Regions from separate parts of the Homo sapiens genome. Here all the other regions are linked to region 2. The links are contacts of gene promoters, found by promoter capture Hi-C in blood cells and fetal thymus (Javierre and others, 2016). All regions are on one chromosome and are shown on one strand. The core of a region is centred on a gene start or on the middle of the fragment in contact, and the rest is flanking DNA. Distances in the headings are between cores, read along the strand shown. Region 1 has its middle 85 kb from the start of SNRK. Region 2 holds the start of SNRK (SNF related kinase). Region 3 holds the start of SNRK-AS1 (SNRK antisense RNA 1). Region 4 has its middle 79 kb from the start of POMGNT2.

Region 1 (4,178 bases), core at 1,068-3,567, 85 kb before region 2:
GACAGATTTGAGCTTAACTTCTGTCACCTTGTTGGTTGACTCACAGGAAAGGCTTTTCTTTTCTGAAAAAACCTGATGACATGGTGTTGGCTTCTCATACATCAGGTAGTGAGCTCTTTTGCTTGATAACACTACCATAACAAAATTTAAAAGCAAGTCCTGAAAGGATCAAACTGTTTCCAAGTAACTGTGTGCCAGAACAAAGCCCAACACTCTTCTGAGGAATAAAACAAAATCCAACACCCAACACGGTAAAATTCCCATTATCTAGCATCCAGTAGAAAATGACCAGGCATACAAAAGCGCAGGAGTATATGACTCATAACCAGGAGGAAAAATAGAAGAAGTCCCAGCAACAGCAGAGATGATGGAACTAGCAAAAGTGGACATTAAAATAGCTATTATAAATCTCATAAATATATGAAAGGATACTCAAGGAAAACACAAACTCAATTCTGAGAGAAGTAGAAGATATAAAAGAAAACTCAAATGGAACTTTTGGAGGTGGAGAATATAATATCTTAAAAAAAACAAAACTTGAACAAAAATCATTATCTCATTGATACTAGAACTCATTTTCAGGCTGTCAAGTGATAATTGAATCATCACTTCCTTGGAGAAGCCTCGCTGGCTGGAACAAACCTAATATTCTGGGCTGTCACAGTCTTCAGCCTCCTCTTCAAAGCACTTGTCATAGTCATAGTACTTCCATTATCTGTGGAACTATGCAACTCATGTCTGTTTTCCCCACTACACCACAAGGTCTAAGAGAGCAAGAGCATGTTTTTGCCTACCTCTGTACCAGTGCCCAGCCAATGCCAAATATGAAGTAAGCACTCCATAAATATATCTTGAATATATGAATGGACTTCTATAATCAGCTTTGCAGTGTATTCATTTGGCAACTCTTGTTTAATGCATCACGCCTGACTTCTTCCTTCCTTCTTCATCAGCATAGTGATGCTGTTTGACCATGAGGTCCAGCTCTCATATGGCCTCATAAAATGGGCTTCCTGCAGGCACTGTTGAATCCTGAATTAAGTGTGAACAGATGATTCACTAAGCGACCTGGAGCAAGTTGTTTAACCTCTCTGATCTTTGGGTTTTTCAGCTACTAAATAAGAATATTGAAACAGATTACCTCTAAGAACTCTCCCAGCTCTCATGTTCCAGGATGCTGGTTGTGGTCCAGTCTCCAAAAATGCTGCTCCTCCGGGCAGGATCCTCACTTACCTCCTGGTGGCCATACTCTTCCTGAATTGAACTTGGGCTTTCTGTGTGACCGATAGAGTATGGTGAAGAGAACGGTGAGTGGCTTCTGAAGGTAAGCCATAAAGGGCACGGCAGCTTCTGCTTTGGTCTTTTGGATTGTTTGCTCTAGGGGATGCCAGCCACTACGTCATGAGAACACTCAAGCCACCACAGGGAGAGGCTCTTGAAGAAAGTAATTAAGGTCTCGTGCTAATAGTGAACTATCTTGGAAATGGATCCTCTTGCTTCAGTCAGCCTTCAATTGGCTGTAATCTCAGCAAACATTTGACTTTAACCGCATGAGAGACCATAGCCACAACCTCCCAGCCACACCACCCCTGAATTCCTGACCCACAGACACTTTGAGAGACAATAATTGATTACTGTTCTTTTATTTATTTATTTATTTTTATTTTTTAGAGACAGTCTCACGTTGTCACCCAGGCTGGAGTGCAGTGGTGCAATCTCGGCTCGCTGCAACCTCCGCCTCCTGGGTTCAAACGATTCTTGTGCCTCAACCTCCCAAGTAGCTGGGATTACAGGCACGCACCACAACACCTGGCTAATTTTTGTATTTTTGGTAGAGATGGGGTTTCACCATGTTGGCCAGGCTGCTTTTGAACTCCTGGCCTCAAGTGATCTGCTCGCCTTGGCCTCCCAAAGTGCTGAGATTATAGGCATGAGCCACCACGCCCAGCTGATTATTGTTATTTTAAACCACTGAGTTGTGGAATAATTTGTCAGGCAATAATAGATAACTAATATACCGGTACTGAAAGCTTACCCTTCCTCATTCTTTAAAAACTTCTGCCACAAAGAAAACACAAAAGTGTTGTATAAGCTGAATCCCCAAAACAGAAATCTTTCCTAACTTGGTCACCAACTTGGATGCCTGGGATTTAACCTGAAAGTCTCAATACAAAAGCCCTCTTTGTTCATTTGGCACCCAAAGACCTGATGACACCCAATCTCCATTCTGCTCCTCCCTCTTTTCCTTCTTTTTCTCATCAGCCATGTTTCAGTCCTGTTTTAACAATTCTACTCCCATTCTGCTGCTGATTTCCTAGGTGCCCTGGGGACATGTTTCTTGCTCTTCTGAATGAGCTTTCCAAGTTCCATAATCAGTTTGAATATATCACAAGCACCTGTGGGCACTTGGCAGGTGCTGAACAAATATTATTTCCTGCCTTGGTCTAGGTCCTTCAGAAAGCAGAAACTGAGCAAGGATTGAGGTTCTAATTTGCTTAGAAGTTGCAAGCCCAGAGCAATGGAGATGAGGGGGCAGAAAATGAGGGAAGAGAAGTCATGAGAAGTAATGCAATGCACTACTGTGATGACCTATTTCACCCACCATAAGCTTGGATGGGACACCAGGTTGCATGTTTACTTAGTATAAAGAGTTCTCTGAAAAGGCTGCAGGAAGGATTAATGATGCAGAGGCACCCACAAGACAGAGTAGGATGGGGGAAGTTATCTGCCCTGCGCCCATCTGTCTTCTATCTCCTAGGTCAATGTCCACTTCCTGAATAGTTACTAACCTTGCATTATCCAGTCCCTGATGACTGCCCAAGAAACCAGATCCCATGCCCCATGGTGAGGTGTTTCACCCAGTCCAAAAGTGGAGGGCATCCGGGAGTGAATGGGCACTATCCAGAAGAGGGTACGAAGCCATAGAGGGAACCTAAGAAGATATATAAGGTATGTCTCCTTATAGTTATCCTCTTGGTACTGTTTCCAAATTCTCAGACACTAATTTGCTAGCAAGCACAACTATAGAAAGACCTGGATTCTTGTTGCCTTGACTGTACCCGTTCCTCAAACTTGTAACGTGGGTGGAAGATAGAGTGAGGCTGCATATTTTTGTAAGCTGACCCTTGCAGGCTCCAAGACAGATGGACACACTCAAATCTTGGCATGTAAAATGCAAGACTCGCTCTTTCTTCAGGTGGCTAGAAGGGAGATCTTATCTGTCAGTTGAGGGGGTCTCTGAGACAGTAACATTCGCCCAGCAGTTTAAGAAAAATGTAATTTAATAGAGTAAAACCAAAGCTTTTGAGCAGTCATTGGGCTGATTTTGACGAAAATTCCCCAAAGCTCTTGTTTTTTGCTAGGAAGAGAAATGTTTCCTCCTAAGAGTTTTTCAAACCTCTACTTAAATTCAACAGTGGCAAAGTGGCTGTGCTCAACAGATGGTGGATGCAGGAGTCCCTCAGAATTCCAGTGTACAAGCCGGGCATGGTGGGTCATGCCTGTAATCCCAGCACTTTGGGAGGCTGAGGTGGTTGGATCACTTGAGGCAGGAGTTTGAGACCTGCCTGGGCAACACGGTGAAACCCTATCTCTACTAAAAAATACAAAAATTGGCCAGGTGTGGTGGCACATGCCTGTAATCCCAGCTACTTGGGAAGCTGAGGTGCAAGAATTGCTTGAACTCAGGAGGTGGAGGTTGTAGTGAGCCAAGATCATGCCACTGCACTCCAGCCTGGGCGACAGAGCAAGATTCTGTCTGGAAAAAAAAAAAAAAAAAAAAAAAAAGAATTCCAGTGTACCAAGAGGCTCAGTCCAGCCCTCATTTACAGAGGAGGATGGGTGGGTGGGTGGATGCTTGGGTGGATGAATAGATGAGGTAGCTGCTTAGTTTTGGATATTCAAGAGGTATTGTCTGCACCCAACCCCTTAAACAGGCAAACAAGAAAAAGCATCAGTGTGGGTTTTTACTGTCTTGAATCATTCTCTCTGACATGTATTTCTTGTCCCTGACACAGCTACCCCCTCCGATCCCCCACCCTTCTGGTTTGTTATCAGCTCCATGCTGTCTCTTTGCATTAAAGTGACAAGAAGCAGCACAAAGCTGACGACAGGAGGCCAGAGCTGTAATTTGCACTGACATTCACTGGCGTTATCCACTTATTGCCTGGTAAGCCAAA
Region 2 (4,000 bases), core at 1,213-3,712:
TCTAGAAATGCACAAGTATAAATGTATGAAATAACTAGTTAAATATGTAAAAGGGAATGTTGTTAAATAAAATGTCACAACTCAAAATTGAACTGTGTATGAATATTCAATGTCTGTTGTTTTAAATACATTTATTTTAAAATTTGAAATAAATTACAAAAACTAACAATATCCAGAGAAGATAACCTTGTTACATATGCTGCTTTTGGGGTTCCAAAGATGAAAATGACAATTCTTTCATCAGTCTGCTCAATTTTCACATTTTGATCTAATTTGTGGCACCTCCCTGGTTTCCTTCCAATAAACAACATCTTCCTTAAACTGGTGGCATTATGTTATTTTTGAGATCTGAATCACAGAGACTGTAATACAAGCAAGCATGCTTCATCTTGTCGTTTTGTAGAATGCTGTACATCTAATTAAAGCTTCTTACAGGTCCATAAAAAGACCCAACATTAAAAAAGCAGTGTGTTGGAGAAAGCCCCAGGGCAGAGTGGAAAAGGAGTTTCTTCATTAACTATAAGCACATTTGCTTAAATTCCAACTTAAGTAATACTATTAATTTGTACTTGAATATCTTAAAATATTGCCGAAGCATAATCAAATCATGTCACCACATTTATGGTGTGGAACCAAAACTGGGTCATATTCTTGCCAGCAGCACTTCAGCTACCCAAGAAATACTGGGGATGAATAAATGATTTACCATGTGGCCAGTACTGCGTCCTTCTCTAGAAGAGTATTGCAGCCAACTTCATTTAAATCAATTTATTATTTTGCCCTTTTTCATTTGTTTTGCTCTTTTATGCCTTGTTTTCCTTAGAAAATTTATTCAAAACCTAGTTAAACAGCAGCAATATAAATACTTTATTTTTCAAGAGCTTATATATTATCGTCATTGTTCTGTAGTTACTGATATAACTCAGGGACTACAGACCCAGGGGTGGAGGCCTTCGACCACTGGAAATCCCTTGGGAGACCATTACAGTGGTATTTTCTCCCTTTAGTTGGCTACAGAGTTCCCTGAATAGTGATATCTCCCTGAGGAGAAAAGTGCATGGTCTTCCTGATTTCTAGCAACAAAAGGACAAATTCTACAAATCCAAGTTAGGAGCTCTTGCTTAATATGCTGCTACAGTTACGATTTCCATGTCAAAATGAGATGACTCTTTTATGGTCTTTTCAGGTCAGAGTGATCCCAGGTGGGACCCTAAGGCGCAGAGGCCTAATCTGAGGCTTTCCCTGGTGCTCTCCCACCACCTGATGCAAGGGTATTAGGGTAACTGGGAGTCCCCTTGATCAGAAAACCCTATGTTATTACCCTAAGAATCAAACTGTTTGCACCTCCCAACAATCCACTCCTGCTTCCCAATCATCTTCAGACATGCAAAGTTGATGCATAGAAGCTAAAAGGCTTTTGACATTTGCAGGTCAACAGAGATTTGCTAAAACCATCTAGATTTCTCTTCGCAGTCCAGTCAATTCAACCAAGCCTGCAGCATCTCCGCAGCTCTTCTGGCTTGTGTCCTTCCTTGCTAGGGGTCCTTTCTTGGGGAAGGGTGGACACAACGTGGGAACAGAAGGGGAAAAGCAGGTTGAAGAAATCTGGCGTCTGGTTTGTTGGTGTTCCCTTCCAGGAACCCTGAAGAGCTGGTCTCTATTGCATGCCATGCTTCCAGGGGTGGGAGTCGGGAGTCCCCTCCCACCCTCTGCGGCCATCCCTAAGCTCCCTTCCAGAGCAACCTGGCCTGGCGACCATACCACTGAACCATCAAGGGCTATGGTTAATGCCCGGCGTGTTTTGAATCTCTGACTTCACGTGCTTTGATGTGTCCCCACGACCGTTTACTTTTCTATGCTGTTGCCAGAGGCTGCCTAGCAGGGCCTGTGTCTCCCGCTGACCTTTAAGGCCAGCACTGCATTCAGATGTTGGGCTTTTCCAATTTTGCTTAAATAACAACAAAATCAACCGAATTTTTTCAAATTAGAGTCCCAGGGAGAAGAAACTACAGAGAAAAAAATCATATTATGTATATATATGTATATACATATGTGCATGTGTGTATGTATATGTATTTTTACAATTTTTTTATCCTTGTTTAAACCTGGGCGGGAACCAAAGAGTAAAGCGCGTGCGGCTCCCTGCCCCCTGCCGCCAAGACGCAGTCCTGTACAGACGCGGTCCCTTCCCTCCGATTTCCCCTGACAGCTCGCGCTACTTTTTCCCGGCCATTGTTCCGTGTCCCTGGTGCTTCCTCCTCCCCCGTCCTCCATCCTCCTTGGGCGCCTTGCCCGCTTTGTCCCGCCAGCCGCCTCAGCCCCGACTCGCCGGGGTCAGAAAGCCGCCAGGATGCCCTCCAGCAGCCCGCGCGCCGGCCGCAGGTGCGCGCCGCCCCGCCCTGCCCTTCCCGCGGCCCCGCCCCAGCGCTGACGTCACAGTGACGCGCAGCCCGCGCAGGCGCAGCTACCCGGCACCCCCTCCCCGCGGCCGGCAGCCCGCTCGGTATTATGATTAGCGCTGGGTGCGGGGTTTCGGCGGCCGGGAGGGAGTTGTCGGCGCCGCGGCCGCTGCGGACGGACGCTCGCCTGCCGGCTGAGGTAGGGGCGAGCGCGGAGCGCGGCGGGGCGCGGCGGCCGTAGGCAGGGGTGCGGGGCCGGCCTCCGCCGCCTCAGTAGCCTCCGCTGTTGCCGGGCTGGGCGCCCGGGCCGGGGCGCTCGCCGCAGGCGGAAAGTAAGTTGCGCTCTCGGCGCCGGCCGCAGCGCGCGGCCCGGGAGGACGCGGGGCCCGGGCTGCGGTGGCCCGGACCCCGCGGCGCGGCCTGGCGGCGGGGCGGCGGCGGGGCCCGGCGGGAGCCGTCACTGCGGCGGCGGCCGCGGTCGCCTGGAGGCCCTGCCCTTGCGGCCGCGGCGGGATTGCGGCACCTCGGAAGGCGCCCGCATCCCCGCGCCCCGCCCCGGAGCGGGCCGAGTGCGGCGCCCGCGGGGCCCCGCGCCCTGGGCGCTTGGTAGGGTGTGTGTTCTTTGAATGCGTTTTCCCCTTTCAGAAGACTGTAGAAATCCGGCCTCAGCAAAAGGGTTCCGTGGTCAAACTGCTTTACAATAGAGTGGGGATGTTGTCTGTAGAGAAAGGGCAAAGGGGTAAGGAAAGAGGAGCAGTGCCATTCCCGAGGGAGAGCTAGAATTTTTGCAGACTGGGAGACTGGGAAATCTACGTTCTTTTCCATAGTCATCGCCTGTTGATTTCTTTCTGGTCCATTTTACAGGGACCTTCCTGCCTTTTACTTGGACTTGGGTTGCAGGAAAGTGGCAGCCTTTTATCTTCGGGGTTCTTGGAGCTGTGCTATTTGTAACTGTTGGATCGCATACAGTCCAGTAGTTTCATAGGGAGTTTCAGGCTTTGGGGAGAATTTAGCAGTGGAGTTCCTAAATCTATAGAGGTCTGAGGATATGGGACCTTTCAAACTGTCATGTTACTTTCCACCCCCCTTCCCTTTAATTATGTGCATTCTTAAAGTCTTAGGAACCGTGGTAAAGTTGACTTAATGCCTTAAACATTTTGTCAGGTTTTAAGGTGAAGCATGGCTTGCAAGTGTTGGACATCCTGTTGAATCTCCACCAAGTTCCTATCAAACATGAAATGCCTGAGTTTGGGCTCCTTGTATGGGATTGGAGCACTATGTCCCAAACCAGTCTTTAACTTATCAGAATATATACAGCAGTGTACTTTAAAGCCCGGGTTGTCAAGGCTTATGTAATCAGTTTGTTAATTTATAATCTCGTTACATTGCTTTCCAGATTTATAAAATAATTCCCTTAAGGAAATCTGTCCTCAACGTCTGCTTAAATATTTCTCTTGGAATTGGATTCTTGAAGAGGAATGTACTGTACAAGTGATGATTAAAGCATACTAATTAGACAAGTTTCTTTTTTTAAAGAACACCAAATACCAAATTTTTAATCTGATTATCTGTGTAATTGTCCTTGAGAGGAGAACAGGTGG
Region 3 (3,942 bases), core at 833-3,332, 65 kb after region 2:
CAACATTGGTGATAGCATGTGGCTGGGACCCAGGGCCCTTCCCCACTCTTCAGCCCCGAGTCATGTGTCTGAGGTGACGGACTGAGACGCATCTGGTCCTGTAATTCAGAGAGTGGGCACATCACCAAAGAACTGCATTGCTGTGGTCACTGTTTCTTCAAGTACACACTGACTCTGCTACTTTAGGATAAATATATTTTACTCAGAACTCTGAATTTCACAGTATACTTACTAAACTAAGTAAAAATGATACTTAAAATACTTATTTTACTTTCTAGACCTAGGCTAGATGTTTTAAGCTACAGCTCTAGTTCATTGTGATATTTATAATTTGAAAGCTATGAGAATAGATGTGTGGGTGAAGCCATAGAACATATTTGCTTGAAATTCTTGAGCAGGGATCTTATAAAGGGCCAGAAATAAGATGTGTGGTTCACATAGATAGTGAGCGTAACATCTGTATTAAACATAGGAGAGAAGTTTATAAAGGGCATTGGCAATAAACTCTTTGTTGCAGCTGTTTTCCAAGCAGTGTAAATACTTTTTCCTGTGATTATGTATAGCCTTGGAATGGCACCTTTTAACTAACCCATATGTGTTTGGTTTCAATGGTTTTTTATATTCAGATGTATATATGGTGCTCACTTTAGGATCAGCAGTGTTGACCATTTATGCTGCATAGCTGTATTATAGCCTTATTAGTTGTGTGGTTGACCCTTGGGGTATACAAATGTCAGTCTGAGTGGTGTCTTACTCCTTTGTTTATAAGTGAATGATTGTGCATGTTTTGTATGTCATAGTATGTCGTCACATAAAAGGGAGGGAGCGAAAAACCATTACATTAAGATAATATTGGACCAAACTACTTACTTGCTCTAAACAGTTACTTGTACCCCTTAACCTGTCTTCAAAAGTTGCATATAGTTACAGTAGTGTATAAATTAAATATTGTGGAAAAACAGTCTTGTATTTTTCTGTATGTGTGTATATATATATAATTATGTACTTCTGGCAATTCTATCTGTATTTAAAGATGTGACAATCTTGACACCAATTTTAAGAATAGCTGTGAGACCGAATTAAAGATAATCCCTACCAAGTGAAAATTGATGTGTGTTAAGAGGGTACAGAATTATCAACTGATTTGGTCAGTTGCTTCCAATGCTGGTTGATTTCCCTCATTGTGTAAACATTGACAGGTATGTGACAAATGGGAAAAAAAATCCAAATAATAAAGTGACATATTGGTGTTCAGCAATATAAACCGTGTCCTGTGTTGTATTGCTTCTCATGAGTGTAGCTTTGTGTGATCCCACCTCAGTTAGACCCAGCCTTCTCCATGCCCTGTGCCTGCACCACCAGATTTGGCTGAAAAAGTACAGTCATTATTATGTTTAAACTCATGGCTACAAATCATAGGTGGGGCCAGGGTGCCCATTAAGTATACTTACTTTATTTCTCTATTTCATCTCCTTTCCTCACTCTGCTGGTCACCATGCTGCCTAATTGAATAAAGGGAAGCAATGAGAACTGCCACAAGTTCCCACCTCTGCCTTCCTCCCTTCCTTCATACACATTCACATGCTCTGCCCTTCCTCCTGTTACTGTGATTCCAAGGTCAGCTACTCTTACTCAGTTCTCACAACCATTACCATAATTGACTTTTACAACCCCCCCCCGCCCGCCAAAGAAATCTTGTGCCCTTTGGCATACTTTACCTTGTCCGCAACTCCCTTTACTCCAGCCTCATGCAACCACTTCCTGTGATCAATTTTCAATCCCATGTTAGAATTTGATGAATTGCTCACTTTCTTCCTTATGAACTTCCCATCTTTCAGTATCTCACTTCTGCCTTGCTGCTCTTCATGTCCACTGGTCCTTCCTCATTCTTCCAACCTCTAAATTTGGAATGTCCCAATGTTCAATTCTGGACCCCTGCTCTATCTGCAGTGACTCCTGATCTCAGTTAGTCTAGTATCTATATGCTGATAGAAGCCCAAAATATATTTAGCCCACATACCCTGGGAACACTGGATTTCAACTATCTATTTGACTTTTCTTCTTGGATGTGTCTGTGTGTCTACAGCATCTCAATTTTTACAAGTTCAAAACCCCTAATCTTTCCCCTCAAATCCTTTTACTAGCGCACCCATCTTAATAAATATCAACTCCTAGCCTTCAATAGTTTCATTCAAGCTGAAAATCTTGGTGTCATCCACTTTTTCATCCCAACATTCAGTTTATGAGCAAATCTTAACTTGCCTTTCACAGTTGACTCCTTCTCATTGCCACCACCACTACCACTCTAGTCCATGACACTCAACTGTAAATGCCTCTTAAAGGGTTTCCCTGCATTTGCCCTTGTCTTTCTCATTTATTTTCCACTTAGCAGTATGAGAGATCATTTTAAAGGCTAAATCATACCATGTTTTGAAACGTGTTTAGTTTCCAAATATTTGGGGTTTTCCCACATAGGTTTCTATAATTTTTAGTTTAATTCTATTTTTATCAGTGCATGCTTTCTATAGTTTAAATCTTTTGAAATTACTGAAACTTGTTTTATGGCCCAACATACGACCTATCTTGGTGAATGTTTCCTGAGTGCTTGGAAAGTGCTATTGGTGGAGTGTCCTATACATGTCAGTTCGTTCAAGTTGGTTGATAATGTTCAAGTTTTCTATATTCTTACTGATTTTCTGTCTCAATTATTGAGAGAGGAGTGTTGAAATCTCCAACTATAGTTGTGGATTTGTCTATTTCTCCTTTTAGTTCTAGCAGTGTTATTTTAGAAAATTTGAAGCTCTGTTGTTTGGTACATAAGCATTTAAGATTGTTACGTCATATCAATGAATTGATCCCTTTCCTCATGAAATGTTCCTTCTTTATGACTGGTAAACTATTTGTTCTGAAATCTACTTTGTGTGATAGTGATACAGTAACTCCAGCTTTTTTTTGACTTGTGAGAATATATCTTTTTCCATTCTTTACTGTTAACCTATTGTGTCTTTATGTTTAAAGTTTGTTTTTTGCAGATATCATATAGTTCGAGCTTGCTTTCTTATCCCATCAGCAAATGTCTGTCTTTGATTGAGGGTTTAGATGTATTACATTTAGTGTAATTGTCAATATGGTTGAGTTTAAACCTACCTAGTTTTCTATTTGTCTCGTCTGTTCTTTTTCCCTCTTTTGCTACCTTGTTTTGGTTTAACTGAGCACCTTTTGTTACTCCATTTTATCTCCGCTATTGGCTTATTGGCTGTAACTCTTGTTTTTCAGGGGGTGCTATAAGATTTGCAATACATGTATTTTATTATATCACAGTCTATCTTAATATATCACTTCATGTAGAATATAAAAACCTTACAACTGTATGCCTCTATTTTCCTCTTCCTGTTCCTTATACTACTGTTGTCATACATTTTATTTTTGTATATGTATAAATATTGTTTTAACTAGTTTTTAAGGGATTAAACAGGGGGGGGGGGAGTATTTTAGCTACATATTTGTCATTTGCAGCACTCTTCATTTCTTTGTGTAGATCCACAGTTTGGTTTTCCTTCTGCCTGTAGAACATTCTTTAACATTTCATATAATGCAGATCTGCTGGCATTACATTCTGTCAGCTTTTGTTTTGAAAAATTACTTTTCCTTTATGAAAGATATTATCATTGGGTATAAAAATTCTTGATTCATTTTTATTGCAATGCTGGACACTGAATTTTGCATTGTTGAATGCTGGAATTTTTTGTATTCGTGTGAGAAGTATTGGATTTCATTTTGGACTGCAGTTATTTAAAATCATTGGATCCTTCATGTCTCACTTTTAAACTGTTAGGGCAGATCCTGAGCAGTCTTCAGTCTAGGGCTAATTTGGCCCACTACTGAGGCAATACCTCTCTAGGGACTCTATTGAGGCTTTTCTACTCTGGCTGGTAGGAACAT
Region 4 (4,051 bases), core at 446-2,945, 100 kb before region 2:
AAACATATCCATCTTAAGGCTAAGTCAGATTCCAAAAGCAGAACTTTCTTTATTTGCAGTTTCAAAGAGCAGAAACAGCAAGACCTTTCTCCCTCTATCCTAAAGTGTTTCCAGAATGTTCTAACGAGCATGAGCCAATGATAAGCATCAGTTGTTTTTGTCTGTTCAACAGATGTTCTCCTTGTTTTCTATAACAGCAGTTCATCTGACATTAGAAAATGCTTTCAACATAGGTAGAAATGTTAACCCAGTCCCACTCCAACCCATAAGGCCAAGCAGATCCTTTCTTCCCAGGAATTTCAATCTTGGTGGAGCCACACAAGGATAAAAATCAATTGACCCTGACACATGCCTTTCTCTGGGGCTACTTGTGTGTCCTTTCATGCATTTCTCTTTTGCTCGAGTCAGCTGAGATCTGATTAATTTCTGTTGCTTGCAGTCAGAAATCCCAACCTGAGGGTCCTACTTTGTCCTTCCCTTAAGGACTCAGAGATAGGGAAGCTCAGGAGAGAAACAGGAACTGTGGAAAAATTTCCCAGATGATGGGGAGACGGGGTCAGGGAGACGGAGCAGCCCAGTGCAGAAGTAGATCAGATTAGATCAGAACCCAGGAGAGAACCTGTAAACACTGGCTGATGTGGTAGGGACATAATACACTCAAACAGGCCATAGGGATTGGGGTCTTCCTCCTAGCCCCTAGCTTGAGCCCTCCTCTCTGTGACACCAAGCTAGGCCCTATCATGCCTAGCTTTGATAGGGCTCCTGTATTTCCCTCTGGCTCACATTTCTATATTTGATCTTGATTAGGGCAATGAAAGGCTCTGGGATTGGCTTGTCCAACTCCCTCATTGTCTTCAGATAGAGAAAGTGAGGACCAAAGACAATAGGAGTCTTTTGGTCCTTTGTAAGCTTGCTTTTTGTTTCTATCTGAGCTTATCCCACAAACAGCTTAAGAACCCCCGAAGAGCTCCTTCTAGGGAGGGCCAGGCACTGGCAGGACCTCACCACCACCACTTAGACCCAGATGGAGACCAGGAATGGTTTCTACGGTGGCCTAGCTTAAGAGTGAAGTCACAGAGGGGCCTGCAGGATTGGCAAGGTCACCAGTCATTCCCACTAGCTGTACTTTTGGCAGATCAGCTTTTTGTTGGGCATGGGTCAGGCCTTCTCAAAGTGCTCCTCAAGATGAGGCTCAGAGAGGCAACATAAATCATGAAAGGGCCAGCCGTGGGCTCTTCACACAATCCCCTACCATCTTGCTAAAAGTTGAAGGGCAGCACAGCCATACCTCATACATGGTAGCTTATTTTTGGCTGATGAAAGGCCCCAGATACTCAGGCTCCTTAGCAGAGATGTGGGACTTAGGGAGGAAGAACTGTTCATTGGCAATGATGAGCGGCAAGTGATCCCTTTATGGCCCGGAAAGGTCCTTTGGACACTCACGCAGAGCACCAAGGAGATGGAACTCAGCCACCCAACTTGCCCAATTCTGGACTCCTCTCACCTGCCTCAGCCAGGACCAGGGATGGAACAGGGAAGCGGGGAGCAAAGGCCTTCAACCCAGAATGCTCTAGGAGGGGACACTGTGCAACCCAGGCATGATGAGTCCTCTCTGTGAAATAGGGAAAGTCAGAGAACCAGACCTACAGTCAGGCACTGTCAAAAGTTTATGATCCTAATTTCCCAGGGAGCCACAGCCCCTCTCAATTTTGGGGCCTTGCAGGTTCCGCTGCTCCCAGTGGACCAATCCTCTCTCTCCTGGGTGCCTGGGCCACATCCTAGTGGGAGCTGATGTGATTGGCTCAGCTCCAATGACCTTCACATCTCATGGGTCAGGTACCAACAATGGACGAGCTTCCTTGGGTCACCCTTCACCCAGCCAGTGTCATCCCTGAGGAAGGTCAGGACAGGCTGGCAGGTGTCATAGCTGACAAGTCTGGTCACACCCCAGGAGCTGGCCAAGACTCACGTTTGGCACTCACAGTCATAGTCCAAGCAAATTGGGGAGCAGGTGACCTCACTCATGTGGCACAGGGCTTGGTGACCCCTGCCAGGCCCCCCAGTATTTCCCCACTCGATCACCTTTGGCCATGTTAAGAGGACATTGTTAGTCCTGATATTTTTCTTGCTTGTCCTTTGTTAGGGGTAATAAAAATGCCCTAAGAAACTTCACATTAACAAAGTTGTATTCTAAGTCTTAAACAAACAAACAAAAAGGATAAACAGGTTTGTGGGCTAGAGAGCTTCAGATTTATAATAGCAATGCCATTCGTTTGCAGTAGGAATGTCAGTGATAAAGATCTTTTAAATAGCTGTGTGTTGTTTGTTATTCTACGTAAAATTACTCAGCTGGATGATGAAAATGGTGAAAACACAGTGCAACATGACCAAGCAGACCTTGAAGTGTACAATACATCAGGGCATTTTGGGATCATCTAATAAATGGCAGTGCAGTTCCCAACTCCAAACAGAAGAACATGTGAAGCTTCAGCAACCTGATCAGGCCACGTAGGAGCCGACTGTGGTGGCACCATGCACGTAACTGGCCTCAACCGAGTGACCACCCCGTATCCTGTCCTCATTCAGGAAATGCCTCCATCTGCCTTCAGCACTAAATTGAGTTCAATTTCCTTGCCCATTGTCACTTTAACCAAGCGGGAGGAGGCACTGCTCCACCACCTTCCTGCCCCAAGATCCAGACATAGACGCTGCTCCACTCTCTGTAACTGCATGAGATAGGGCAGGTTATGGGACCTCTCTGTGCTTCGGTTTCCTCCTAGGTAAAATGGAAGTGAAGCACCACCTTATAAGGGTGTTTTGAAGTTTAGCATCAGGCATGGAGTAACTGTTCTTAATTATTTGCTGCTTTATTAATAGTATAATCATCACAGGGATTTTCTTAGCTCCTCCAGAGATGAGCTCTTCACCCTCATTGCTACTTGCATGTCTGAGATGGCCTAGGACATACTGATTGATTCATTCATTCATTGAGTTTATCAAATATTTACCAAGTGCTAACTATGTGCTATGCCCTGGGGTCATAATGATGTTATATCTGAGAGATGTTCAATGGTCTTTTTATCCATTTCTTTGGCATTCTAGTGTGGCTTCCTGATTGCCTACACTTAGTGGTACTGATGCAGACTAACAGCTATCATCAATTGGGCACCTACCATAAACCAAGTAATTTATATACACATTATCCAATTAGTTCCTTACACAACCCTAAGTGCTATGTGTTGCTACCTTCACTTTCAGCCAAGAAAACTGAGGCATAGAGAGGTTAAGTAACTCGTTCACATTCCTACAGTGAGATAGCCTCAGCATCAGGATTTGAACAGACATCTGTTTGAGTCCTAACCTCTCCACCATGCTCTGGGAAGCCAAGGGAAGGTGGGAACCCCCTCCCTGTTCTGGAGGGCCATCTTCCTGGTCACAGCAAGACACTCCCTTAGTTTTATCCGTGAGAAGCTGAAAACCCTTCAGCAGCTTCTATTCCCACTACTACACAAATCGTCCTGTGACCAGGGGTGTAAGCAGCCAAGTTTTTTCATGGGGCTGTGTACAAGAATTCCCTTTTCTCTACATCCTTACCAACACTTTTATTTTATCTTTTTGATAACAGCCATCCTAACAGGTATGAGGTGATGCCTCATTGTGGTTTTAATTTGCATTTCTCTGATGATTAATAATGTTAAGCATTTTTTCCATATACTTGTTGGCCATTTATATGATTTTAAGAAAGGAGAAAGGAAGAAAGGAAGGAAGGAAAGAAAGGAAAGAAAGGAAAAGAAAGGATAGATTATTGATTTTGAAATGTTAATTTTGTATCCTGCAACTTTACTGAATTTATTAGTTCTAATAGTTTTTTGTGAAGTCTTCAGGGTTTTTTAATAGATGGTATCACCTGCAAACACAGACAATTTTGCTTCTTCCTTTCAATTTGGATGCCTTTTATTTCTTTTTCTTTCCTATTGCTCTGGCTAGGACTTCCAGTAAGTACTTTACTAAATAGAAGTGGTGAGAGTGGACATCCTTATCTTGTTTCCAA

Evidence for each region. Contacts are between HindIII fragments. The CHiCAGO score rates a contact against its expected background, and 5 or more counts as called.
Region 1: a fragment that was not itself captured here is called in contact with the fragment with the promoter of SNRK in region 2 in 1 of 17 cell types (non-activated CD4 T cells); the score reaches 7.3 in non-activated CD4 T cells.
Region 3: a contact is called between the fragment with the promoter of SNRK-AS1 here and the fragment with the promoter of SNRK in region 2, in 4 of 17 cell types (total CD8 T cells, naive CD8 T cells, non-activated CD4 T cells and 1 more). The highest score is 7.3, in total CD8 T cells.
Region 4: a fragment that was not itself captured here is called in contact with the fragment with the promoter of SNRK in region 2 in 7 of 17 cell types (non-activated CD4 T cells, total CD4 T cells, naive CD4 T cells and 4 more); the score reaches 8.9 in non-activated CD4 T cells.

Annotation. Positions count from the first base shown.
Region 1 is chr3:43,199,155-43,203,332 of GRCh38, forward strand. No RefSeq gene overlaps it. Among named protein-coding and RNA genes, the nearest start is that of SNRK, 85 kb to the right of the region's middle. The HindIII fragment of the contact is 578 bases long and covers 2,029-2,606 here.
Region 2 is chr3:43,284,078-43,288,077 of GRCh38, forward strand. It overlaps SNRK (SNF related kinase), which reads left to right and starts at 2,463. Exons shown (of 7, transcript NM_017719.5): 1 at 2,463-2,598. RefSeq lists an enhancer at 2,203-2,703 and silencers at 2,308-2,707, 2,948-2,997. The HindIII fragment of the contact is 7,817 bases long and covers 424-4,000 here.
Region 3 is chr3:43,349,880-43,353,821 of GRCh38, forward strand. SNRK-AS1 (SNRK antisense RNA 1) reads right to left here and starts at 2,083. Exons shown (of 3, transcript NR_046757.1): 1 at 1,719-2,083; 2 at 1,452-1,502; 3 at 1-98. SNRK (SNF related kinase) reads left to right here. Exons shown (of 7, transcript NM_017719.5): 7 at 1-1,264. The HindIII fragment of the contact is 8,620 bases long and covers 1-3,942 here.
Region 4 is chr3:43,183,516-43,187,566 of GRCh38, forward strand. No RefSeq gene overlaps it. Among named protein-coding and RNA genes, the nearest start is that of POMGNT2, 79 kb to the left of the region's middle. The HindIII fragment of the contact is 1,576 bases long and covers 908-2,483 here.